4 separate regions of the Homo sapiens genome follow, and all the other regions are linked to region 4. Evidence: promoter capture Hi-C in human tissues and cell types (Jung and others, 2019). All regions are on one chromosome and are shown on one strand. Each heading gives the region's core, a stretch centred on a gene start or on the middle of the fragment in contact. The rest is flanking DNA. Distances are from core to core; before and after follow the strand shown. Region 1 overlaps CTNNA3 (catenin alpha 3). Region 2 overlaps CTNNA3 (catenin alpha 3). Region 3 overlaps CTNNA3 (catenin alpha 3). Region 4 holds the start of LRRTM3 (leucine rich repeat transmembrane neuronal 3).

Region 1 (3,022 bases), core at 378-2,877, 580 kb before region 4:
TACTAACCTCTTATTGGATGTATGGTCTGCAAACATTTTATTTCATTCCATAGGTTACTATTTCATTTTGTTGATTATTTCCATTTCTGTGCAGAAACTTTTTAGTTTGATATAATTTCACTTATTTATTTTTGCCTTTGTTGCTGGTACTTATGGCATCATATTTAAAAAAATTGTGAAAACTAATGTCATAGAGCATTTCCCCTTTGTTTTCTTATAGTAGTTTTATGGTTTCAGGGCTTATGTTTACAGCTTTAATCCATTTTGAGTTAAATTTTGTTTGTGATGTAGGATAAAAATAAATTTGTTTTTTGGTATGTGGATATTCAATTTTCCCAACCCCACTTATTGAAGAGACTATTTTTTCCACATTGTGTATTTTTGGCAACTTTTCACTATTGAGCATAACACTAACTATGGGCTTGTGAAATACGGCCTTTATTGTGTTGAAATACATTCCTTCTGCTAGGCACGGTGGCTCACACCTGTAATCCCAGCACTTTGGGAGGCTGAGGTGGGTGGATCACTTGAGGTCAGGAGTCTGAGACCAGCCTGGCCAACATGGCAAAACCCTGTTTCTGATAAAATACAAAAATTAGCAGGTGTGGTGGTGTGGGCCTGTAATCCCAGCTATTCGGGAGTATGAGGAAGGAGAACTGCTTGAACCTGGGAGGTGGAGGTTGTAATGAGCTACAATTGCGCCACTGTACTCCAGCCTGGGTGATAGAGCAAGACTCCATCACAAACAAACAAACAAACAACAAAAAAAGGAAATACATTCCTTCTATATCTAATTTGTTGAGAGGTTTTTATCATGAAAGCATGTTGAATTTTGTTAAATTCTTTCTCTGCATCTATTGAGTTGTTTATATGATTTTTGTTCTCCATTCTGTTAATGTGGTGTACCACTTGATCATGGTGAATGGTCTTTTAAAGCTTGTTAGTATTTTGTTGAGGAGTTTTGCATGTTTGTGCATCAGGAATATTGGCCTGTAATTTTCTTTTCTTGTAGCCTCCTTGTCTGGCTTTGGTGTCAGGTAATGTTGGCCTCATAAAATGAGTTTGTAGTATTCCTTCCTCTTCAGTTTTTTGGAGGAGTTTGAGAATTGGTATTAGTTCTTTAAATTTTAGTTGAATTCAGCAGTGAAGTCATCAGGTCCTGGGCTTTCCTTTGATGAGACTTTTTAATTATTGATTTAATTTTCTTTTTTTTTTTCTTTGTTTCTTTCCTTTTTTTTTTGAGATGGAGTTTCCCTTTGTAGCCCAGGCTGGAAGTGCAGTGACATGATCTCAGTTCACTGAAACCTCTGCCTCCTGGGTCCTGGTTCAAGCAATTCTCCTGCCTCAGCCTCCTGAGTAGCTGGGATTACAGGCGTGTGCCACCATGCCTAGCTAATTTTTGTATTTTTAGTAGAGACTGGGCTTCACCATGTTGGCCAGGCTAGTCTTGAACTGCTGACGTCGTGATCCACCTGCCTCGGCCTCCCAAAGTGCTGGGATTACAGGCGTGAGCCACTGCACCCGGCCTTGATTTAATTTTCTTACTCATTATTGGTCTATTCAGATTTTCCATTTCTTCATGATTTTATCTTGGTAGTTTTTATGTGTCTAGGAATTTATCCATTTCTTCTAAGTTATCCAATTTCTTGCCATATAATAGTTCACAGGAGTCTTTTTTAATTCTTTGTATTTCTGTGGTATCACTTCTAATGTTTCCTCTTTTATTTCTGGTTTTATTTGAGTCTCCATTCTTTTTTTGTTAGTCTAGCTAAAGAGACTGAATATGGGAACAGCTGAGACTAAGGTACAGGGAGCTGAAGAAGAGTAAAAATGTCATACTTTAGCTCTGGGTTGTCCACTGTGACTTGGCCAAACTGATCATGGGACTGTCTGGTATTGACTCAGCAGCATTTGTTTCAGAAAAGCAAGCTTAGTCACATATTTACTATACAACTAGTAAAAATTATAATCTCAAATACACTCATATTAAATTTTTGTATCCAAGCTGTACATCTCTACCTGTGTTCACAATCAGAAGACATCACAATGACTGTTACGGTGTCCTTGTCAGGCAAAAAGACTACTGCTTCAACTACAGCTGTTTTGTTAATAGTAGTGCTAGGAGCATGCCTAGGGCACTGTTGGCTAAAATTCAAAGGAAATGTTGAGGATGCCTAGCTGAGACCAACAGTTCAGCTTACAGCAGAGCTTTAAACAGGCACACACCAGTCATGCAGCCTTTTGTAGATGTTAAGCTGTTTGTTAGGGGCTGATTACCTGAGGGCTAATTTAATATGTAATGAGAAGTTTAGTTTGTTCTGTTATTTTTTTTAAGGCGTACTTATTTTTGCTCTCTAAACTATCATGTTTGGACAATTTCATGTTTGCTATTTAGGAAGAAGCTAATCATCTTTTATACCCTATCTCATGCTCCAAATGTGACAGCAGTAGAAACACTTACACTGAAATACATCTAGGTGAGGGAAAATGTCACCAGAAGATGGAGTAGTGTTGCTGGTTTGCTCCATATTTTGTTCAATGATTTAGAAGAGTATGTGTATGTACAGGTTTACTTTCATACACTCTAGTTTCAAATGACAGAAAATATAAATTAATTGATATTCTTCAGAGTCAACATTAAATTTTAGATTGGATGTCTTTAAATTTTTACAATGTAAATTGCTTTTCTCTCTTCTGTGGTCAACTGACAGTTGCATTCATTGACCAGATAAACTATATTTAGCTTAACATTTTTAGTATCACTTATGGGATTTTAGCAAGATGCCACAATATGAACTTGTAATATTGCATTTCTTTTTTAACTGTATTATTACAAACCTGATTTTAAATCATTTTTTTCTATTTTAGTTACAGCATTAATACAGGCTAAAATTCTCTATATAAATTCTGCTCATATTAGTATAGCACCTGGTAGCACTACAGTTCAGTATTTATCATCTACTCCATTATAAAACCTTTGTTCTAAAAGAGCTGTATGAGCCTATTAGATGTATACACAATT
Region 2 (3,127 bases), core at 35-2,534, 710 kb after region 4:
AAGTGCTGGGATTATAGGTGTGAGCCACCATGCTTGCCCAAAAAAGGACATTTCTTATTTTTAGCTATCTCTTAATATTTTCCTGAAAGAAAGCTACACTGAAATGATATTAATACATAATTCAAATACTAAATTAAAAATCTTTTACAACAGCACACTACTGAAAGCATTTGCCCTCAATTACTTTGTTGCACCCTCTTCAAAAGCATCAAAAAAAAGATTAAGCAGAAACACAACTCCGAAATATAAAAGTAATTATATTTATTAGCCAAAATAATAAGAAAGTTAAAATAGAAATAAAACTTCTAGGGATGCTAATAAGAAATGTTTAAAAAATTAACAACAGCAAAGTAACCTGAATATTTAGGTTCTGGCTAAGAAATGGAGAGGTTTTAAAATCCTTAAAGCACACATGTATAACAGATTACTATAAGTATTATTAGGCTGAGGCATTAAGAAACAATAGTTGCTGGCTGGGCGCATTGGCTCAAGCCTGTAAACCCAGCACTTTGGGAGGCCGAGGTGGGTGGATCACGTAAGGTCAGGAGTTTGAGATCAGCCTGACCAATATGGTGAAACCCCGTCTGTACTAAAAATACAAAAATTAGCCAGGCGTGGTGGCGGGTGCCTACAACCCTAGCTACTCAGGAGGCTGAGACAGGAGAATTGCCTGAACTTGGGATGCAGAGGTTGCAACGAGCTGAGATCGCGCCACTGCATTCCAGTCTGGAGAAAAGAGTGAGACTCTGTCTCAAAAAAAAAAAAAAAAAAAAAAAACCCAAAAACAATAGTTGCTATGACTGCAAAGGAAATGTTAGACATGCACAAAAGTTATAATCTGAAATTGGTTCAACAATTCTTGAACCACATAATCACATCCATAGAGAGGGACAGTAGACATGAGAGAAGGATTTTTGAAGAAAAACTTGCCTGTTGGGTCCCTCCGATTGCAACTCTGTTGTGGAATTGGCTGGTGTTTGGTGTTCCCCATCATCGTGGACTCCCACAGTAAACTCCACCTCTTACTACCAGGAACTCTTATCCGGGCATGTTGCCCTCTTGGGCCAGCCTGTTTTTAAATGGCTCCACACTGAAGATTCTACTGCAGATATTAGGGTTGGCTTCTGGAATTCATCCCCTTTCAATATCTAGGTGAAGGGGTTGCTTTTAAACTCAAACACAGGCTTGTACTCGGTACTCACTGGCCTCTTTAGCTTTTTCAGATGTGAATTAGGCTCCAGGCCAAAGCATCCCCCAACTGCAGGTAGCTCATTCAAGCTTTTTTTGTACTTGCAGAGAAATCTTAGTTCAGGGTTAGGGAACTGCTTCCCAGTCTTCCTTTTTTGTTATACTCACAGCAGAGCTCTCTCTAAAATAATTGCTTCAAGGATGCTGCCCATATCTGCTGTCCCCATATCTGGAGCCCTTTAGAGCTTTTGTGTGACAAAGGTTGAAGTGTAACATTACTCATATGTAGTATTTCAGTTTTTATGTGCTGCTTGAAGTCTAGCACCTCCTTTGGAACTCTGCATCCATTATATGTTCACGCCTTGGCCAAAATGTCCATTTGTGAATTCCTCAGGCTGCTGTCTTTTCCTGTGTTGATGGTGTTACTGTTGCAACTGTGCTGCCGTTTGGAAGCATTCTGGGAAGGTAGCTAGCTCCAAATTTACATTGGTCATAAATCAGGCAATTCATTAATGGTACAGTATGATGGAATGTTCCCAAAACGTTGCTTCCCTGAGAATTACCACTTAGTCCTATAGATGCCCCCAGAGAGCTCTCTGTTTATGGGAAGTGTTGTTTCTACAATTTAAAATCTGAGAACATTTCAGAGTATGTCAGCCACCCAAGAACTGTGGCTTTCTATATGTACAAGGTGGCCTAGGCCCCAAAGAGATGCTATAAATAATTCTATCATTTTCAGTAGATCACGTTCTAAACACAATTGTAAACTACATGTGAATTATTTTGTAAACTTTATATGGCTATGTTGTTTTTTGTTGTTTACTCCATTTGCTTAGCATCGGATTTTATATATTTTAGCATACACTGATATCTTTCTTACATTACAAAAACACATATTATGCTATTTTATTTAATGCAATTTTAAGTGGTACGTTAACATAAATTTAAATTTCTGTAAAAGTAAGAGTGTACCTAAATGTATACATTTATTTATGTATCAATTGAAAAAAAATCTTATCGAAACAATAGATTTACCCTGGAATTATGAAATAAGCCTTGCTATAAAGGAAGTCTTTCTCATTGCTAACTCTAATACATTATTTACATTATGTAATAACTTGGGCCTTTTAATTTTCCTGTCAGGATTAAAAAGTAGTACTCCCTTATTTCTCAATGCAAGAACCCTGGACTCAATTGATGTGCAATTATTTAGAGTAAGCAAAGACTCTAAATCAGATGCTTTTGTTATCTCGTTTGCCTTAGTAAATTATAGGAAGTGGTTCCACTATCATTGCCATTTTTTCCCCATATCAGCTGTGTGTTGAGGTCCTGCTTCTTGGCATACCTAAGCCATTTCTTCCCATATATGATACAGTTTATTTTTAATGCCTAAAGATTCCTTATCATACTTACCCTTATTTTACTCCAGCTGGTTTGTGCAATATTGTTATTTTAAATGGTCAATTAAAAATTAACCCACCCTGGGTATTATGTGTGTTCGATGCATTTTCTTATCATTCATTGTTCAGCAATATATTTACTGTGATTTTAAGATCCGAGAGCCAGAAGGGAGCACCAAGTCAGAGTAAAGCCTTCTTAGCCACTACATTTCTTCTTAGTGCTCTCTCTGTCTCTGCCTCTATCTCTGTCTCTCTTACTTTTGCATATAAGTTGCTTGTAGGATAGACTTAAATGTTTATGTTAAACACTATAGGAAAGGCATAAATACGAGCTACTACACATACATGTTTTAACCTAATGTGAGAAACACATGCTAAAGTTTTCCGGAGGACACATGGTTTACTGTCCTATGTCCCAGATTTCTTTATAAGCAGAAACTAGCTTATTACTATAAAATATGGCAATATGAAAAAATTGGCTTATCCCTGACTCCTCTATTTTTTTCATGCTCTTCAAAACATGTCTTCTAAGATCCTTG
Region 3 (2,860 bases), core at 150-2,649, 530 kb after region 4:
TCTTCAAACTCTTAATAGCTGTTGTCAGCAATGCCTATTAAACATATACTTATTATTTTGATGGGAAAATTGCCCCACCCCTACTCCCACAATCACCCAGGAACTTGTAAATACACAATAAACTTTTAAAAAATTATTTTCATAAAGACCAAGATATACACATTGTGATCAGTCTGATCCCAGTGGGACAACTCACGGTACATAATGCAATGATGTACACATGTGGAAAAAGTAAGTATGTCATTGGAAAAATAAATGGTCTAGCATTGTTTACCCATGTACATTATGGCATTTATCATGTTCCTTGGAGTCATTTCTTTAGTTGCTTATTTCTACGACTAGACTGTGAGTTCTTTTAAAGCAAAGACAGTGAGTTATTTATCTTGAAATTTCTCTACACCTCACAAAATACCTTGTAGTAGGAACTCTGCAAATACTCATTAAAATGAATATATCATTATTCAATGAAAGAGATATTGAATGAATGAATATACCATGTGAATATATATATGAGTACTAATTAAATAGAAAATATTAGTTTGGAATTACTATCATTTGGTGGGCAAAGAGAGAGAGGAAAACAATACTGGAAGAACTAAGGATGTTAAGCTTTATCTGTGGGTATCAATGTTATATTTACTTCAGCAATATATAAATGTTAATAAATGGTAGTTTGCTTAGTTCCCTAAGCCTTAGCTATAAGAGTTCTCTGTTTAATAACAATGGCTAATCAAGGATAGAGTATAATTTTAATAGTATCTTACAATAGTAATGCATGTATATTACTGCATGCAATATTATTTTATGGAAAATATATCAATGCTTTAAAAAATAAAAACTACTCATAATGCCACTATTTATTGAAAACTACAATTAGGAGTTTGGAAATTTCCTTCCATATATTTTTCTTAAAATGTATGTAATTATATGCTATATTGTAGAGAAATAAATATATGAATTTTAAATGAGGGTCCTATTTAATAGATACATAGCCTGATTTTTTTCACTTAAAATTATGTCATAAGCATCTTTTTATGTAATTTAATTACTTTATAAGTGAAAAGCTTATATTGGTTTGTTATATTCTATTAAATAAAGTTATTATTTGTGTTTACCAATGGTTAGTTTGCATTATAAATTAAAATCATTGTTTCACTTCAATCAGTAGCTGTGGTTTAAATTTTATTTTGACATGAATCTGTAAACTTATGTGTGCATAGAAAAGCATCTTCTTTATTAGAAATGGAATTTCTTTGAGGATGGTAATTTGGGGACTATTTACTAGAAATGGAATTGCTTGAGGGTGATAATTTGGGAACTATTATTTCCTGATCTAACTCTACCCATCCATAAACTCATTTCTTTAAAATGCTTAATAACTATTCCAATGAATTGTTGGGAAGCTGTGGTTAAATTACTCATAAACATTTCTAGATCTGCTGTAAACTGAGTTCATTTACAAGGTTTTAATACATGTCAGAAGCCTAAGGTGTCACTTTCATGTGGATGCCCAATTTATAATTGAGGCGAAAATATAATTACTCTCTTAACATTTTAATCCTTGAAAATTGTACTAAGTTATTTCAATACTTTTTAAAATTAAGTTTAGTAAACTACATCATTAATTATTTTGCCTGATTACATTCCATGTATTAGGATAAAACTGGTTCAATATAACTAAAAGGGAATTTTAGTATCCCTCTTTTAATATCTAAATAAGTATAGTTTATTCAGTTCAATAAGATTTTGGCTCCTGCATATGCTTTCAGAGTTAAATTAGAAAGCTAATAGTATATAAATACATATCTTTGTATTCTATTATTTGATTGGATAGAGAAAATATGGTATATGCATGGAATACTATGCAGCCATTAAAAAGAATGAAATCATATATTTTTCCAGCAATATAAATGTTGCTGGAGGGCATTAATCTAAGTGAAATAACTGAGAAACAGAAAATCAAGTACCACAAGTTCTCACTTACAAGTGGGAACTAAACAATGGGTACATGTAGACATGAAGATGGAAATAACACACAACGCAAACTCCAGAAGGGGGAAGGGTAGGAGTGGGGCAAGAATTGAAAAATTACCTATTGGGTACCATTTTTGCTACGTGGGTGATGGGTATGCTAGGAGCCCAAACCTCACCATTACACAAACCTGCACATGAAACCCCTGAATCTGAAACAATATAAATAAATAAATAAAAATTACAGAGAGTATCAAGAAATAGAGAACTCTTAAGAGAACAATTACTGATGCTGGTGAAATTGGGATCTTGTTCAGAGGTTACAGAATGGCTATGATTAGGATCTGTTAGAGAATCTTCTAGAAAGCTTTGTGGCAGGTTCATGGAGAAACTTCATGGAAAGGTAAATAATAAGTACAGACTTTTTGGAAATCTGAGGTAAGATGAACCACATTGAATTCCTGAAAACATGGTACCTTTTAAGCCATATCTTTTTGCCTTGTATTTTTTTATTAGTCTTTGTAATTTGTTGTCCAATTCCATGTAGTTTTATAGCAATTTACATATGATAAAAACAATCAGGGTGATACAGAATATTTTGTGAATGATACCGATTTGGGCATGGAAAAAGTCATACCTTGTGTTTGCTTTTAACCTCATGGACTCCTCCTTTGTCATACCTGTGGAAAATTCAAGTTTTTAGTTATGGTTTCCTTGAAGCAATTACAAATGATGCTGAAGAGAATTTGTCTCATAGAGAGGGATCTGTTCTGACAATTTTTGTGCACCTCTGAGCAAAATATAAGAGAAAAATGAATTTCAGCAAAAGAATGCTGTACTTGACTTTAAAATTAATTCATTGACTAGGAAAGTGAACTTCCCTAAGACG
Region 4 (3,123 bases), core at 4-2,503:
AAAATAGGAGATTCTATTGGAACTAAGAATCAGCTCTTTGAGTCTGCGTATTCCATTAAAAGCATTTTCGTCAATATTGCTGATATGGTTATGGTCAAGGTATAGCCAGGTGAGCTGGTTGAGCCCTTTAAATTGATTATACTTAAGTTTTTGAAGGCTGTTATAGCGAAGGGACAAACCTAAGCAACCAGCAGATATACTTGAGGGTATCTCCTGTAATTTCTGAGATTCACAATATACCATTTTGCCTTCACACCTACAGCCCTTAGGGCATCCTCGTTCGGCAGAAGAAAGCATTGTCAGTAAGACAGTGGGGGCTATAACCAGTGCTACAGCTGATCCGCTCAGTAGCCTAATTACATTGAAACCTGGAAATAAAAACAACTTAGAAAAGTTATCCCCCCAAAAAAGAATTAATCCTTAATCAAGCAAAAATAGGCATATATTTTTCATTTTTAAAAATTTAAATCTAAATAACACTTAACATCACATATTATCTCTTTGTAATTAAAGAGAATTGTCTTTAGTGTTTTGTTTTTTTAAATAGTTAAACAAGGAAACATGCCACTAAGCAAATAAATTCATAGTCTTAGAGCAGAGCAAGGTAATCTCTAAAATAATTAAGGCAGAATTATTACACACACTAGAGGTTTTTTGTTTTTTGTTTTTAAGAAGGAAAGAAGAAAAATGACAAAACATACCCATCCTTTGTATTGTTCAAAGGTCGTCCTTAGGTCTTTTGCTTTGGCTTAGGGGCCAGTTGCATGACAGCCCCTGTCAGCTGCACTGTAGTGAGTCAGGGCTCGCTGACACCCAGGAAGAAAAATTGGACCCCTTGGGAGATGGACCGATTTTGGAACATTATTCTTTGCCAGCCACGCAGAACACTCCAAGAACAAATAAATCCCAACACCGCATTCGCAGCAAAACATCAAAATCTTCCTAGGTAATAGGATCTTCATGGATATTACGTTTTTGCATCTTTACAGTTTTTTGGGGGGTGGGGAGGGGGCGGTTAAAAAAAAAACTGGATCCTACAATTTCTTCTTATCGAAAAACATGATGTATTCTTCCAGGCAATTTGGGGCTACCTGAGCTGCCACATCTGTATTCCATACCCCAGCAGTTCCCGTGATGAGCACCCAGTTCAGCCACAGAGCTGCGTTGGAGCCCAGAAGGCAGGAGAGCCCCGTACCGCGCACACGCTCAGCTCACTTCTGCAGACTGTCATTCTGAAAGCTGCTCGGACTGTTGCTTTGGTTTCAGTGAATGCAGTCTTATGTAAAGCTGCCCCCAGTGGTGAAGAACATTATGGGCATGTGCAGAAATGTCTCTCTTTTATCTTGCAAATGAGCAGGCTCTCTGCTGGAAAATGAATGATTCTTTTGGGTGGCTCAGTAGGAACTGAATGGTCACCGTGATCAATAACTAGCAACATTTTCTGTGATTTCCAAGTCTTGTTTTACAATTTGGCAACGTCTTTATTGTCTGTGTCCACTTAATTGCTAAACATGTGCTGCCCAGAGTTTTTCTGGAGCTTGACATTAAGTTCACAGACCGAACGTCAATTTTTCTTAACCTCAACGCAGGCTTTAAACTGAAATTTATAAAATGAATTATTGAGCTTTTCACAGAGAAGCATTAACTGCCTGCCCATTTGACCTCTTGGAGTCACAGTGATTATATTATGCAAGGTGTCTCAGGATGTTAGAACACAAACATTTTGGAATAGAGGGGATGACTGATGACAAGTGAATTAATGTGTCCAATAGCCTTTCCGGTTTTCTCACAGACGATATAATTGATTTTATGGCTATAGTTTCGTTTGTTGTTTTGGTTGTTGTAATTCTCTTTTAATTAGAAGGGAAATAAACCATTTTTAGTGTTAGGATACGAATCAAGAGATCATTTGGTTCATACTTTATTGATGTTGCTGCTATTTATTACACTAATAATATTTATGGAGCACTTTCTAAGTGCTTTAAATGGGCTACGTTGTTTTCTCTTTAAACAATAGTATGATGTGGGTCCTATTATAACCTCTCTTTTAAAGATGAGGAAACAGACTTGGGGAGGTAACTTTCTCAAGGTCATACAGCAAGCGAGTGCTAGAGCTGAGCTTCAGAAGCGAGTCATTCTTATGCCGAACCACTAACCACTAGATGATCCTGTTCAACAACATTGTTATCTTCATTTAAAAAAGAAGTCAGTGAAAATGAAGCCGATTAAAGGATTGGGGCAAGGAAGCTGTGATTAGCAAATTCTTGCTTGTTCTATTAGAATTGCCTAAATTTCTTTTGGTCTGAGGTTCCTAAAGAAGTATAAAAACTAAGGCAGCGTAGTTTAGTGATTAACAGCATAGATTTTGGCACCTAGATTCCAACTCCTGGCTACAATTTACCAGCTATGTAACCTTAAGCGCGTTACTTACCTTCCCTATGCCTCAGTTTTCTCATCTGCAAAACGGGCATAAAAACAAAAACTCACTTCATGTTTTGAGAATTAAGTCATTTTAATATCTGTATGTTACTTAGAACAGTGTGTTGCATGCAATAAGCCTGTGTAAGATATTTGAATAATATTAACTTTATTTGTACTTGCTAGGATTACGTACTGAATATTGACTATACTGACCTTCATTAACTCACAAAGAACAACTTTAGTGAGCATTTTTAAATATTGTACATGGTGGATTTCTGAGATTTACTCAGTCTTGCCTTCTTTGATGAGATAACTTCCTTTATGTTCATCATCTGAACTTTATCTTTAAAATAAATCTTCTGGTTCTGTGGATCATGACTAATAATGTTCGATTCTTTTCATCTCCAAAGTAGAACATAATAACATCTGCCATGTAGAGGCATTTTATTTAAAAATAATGGTATTCTTGAAAAAGTTTGCCTTGTTGTTTTTTGTTAGGTGAACTGTCTGTGGAAAACCGTGGAGAGCTTTCACATTCTCCAAGGATGAGATGTTTGATAAAGGCTAGTAATGACAATCAAAAGGGGTCCTACAGATATAGTACAATGGATATTACCAATTCCTTGGGCAGTATGTTCTTAATAGGGCAGTGCTTTCCCCCAGAGTTACCTAAGCTGTGAATGCACATGAAACATCCAGTGA

Evidence for each region. Contacts are between HindIII fragments. The study calls those that stand out against the background at their distance.
Region 1: a contact is called between a fragment that was not itself captured here and the fragment with the promoter of LRRTM3 in region 4, in 1 of the 25 tissues and cell types used here (hippocampus).
Region 2: a contact is called between a fragment that was not itself captured here and the fragment with the promoter of LRRTM3 in region 4, in 1 of the 25 tissues and cell types used here (dorsolateral prefrontal cortex).
Region 3: a fragment that was not itself captured here is called in contact with the fragment with the promoter of LRRTM3 in region 4 in 2 of the 25 tissues and cell types used here (hippocampus and mesenchymal stem cells).

Annotation. Positions count from the first base shown.
Region 1 is chr10:67,505,753-67,508,774 of GRCh38, reverse strand. All of the region lies in intron 5 of CTNNA3 (catenin alpha 3), which reads left to right. Among named protein-coding and RNA genes, the nearest start is that of MIR7151, 100 kb to the right of the region's middle. The HindIII fragment of the contact is 5,109 bases long and covers 1-3,022 here.
Region 2 is chr10:66,209,634-66,212,760 of GRCh38, reverse strand. The region is part of intron 13 of CTNNA3 (catenin alpha 3); the gene reads left to right. Among named protein-coding and RNA genes, the nearest start is that of CTNNA3-AS1, 130 kb to the right of the region's middle. The HindIII fragment of the contact is 6,515 bases long and covers 1-3,127 here.
Region 3 is chr10:66,395,141-66,398,000 of GRCh38, reverse strand. The region is part of intron 11 of CTNNA3 (catenin alpha 3); the gene reads left to right. Among named protein-coding and RNA genes, the nearest start is that of CTNNA3-AS1, 320 kb to the right of the region's middle. The HindIII fragment of the contact is 3,372 bases long and covers 1-2,860 here.
Region 4 is chr10:66,924,166-66,927,288 of GRCh38, reverse strand. LRRTM3 (leucine rich repeat transmembrane neuronal 3) reads right to left here and starts at 1,253. Exons shown (of 3, transcript NM_178011.5): 1 at 702-1,253; 2 at 1-368. The coding sequence starts at 705. The region is part of intron 7 of CTNNA3 (catenin alpha 3); the gene reads left to right. All of the region lies in intron 3 of LOC101928961 (a long non-coding RNA gene), which reads left to right. RefSeq lists a silencer at 1,281-1,390 and an enhancer at 1,010-1,866. The HindIII fragment of the contact is 13,899 bases long and covers 1-3,123 here.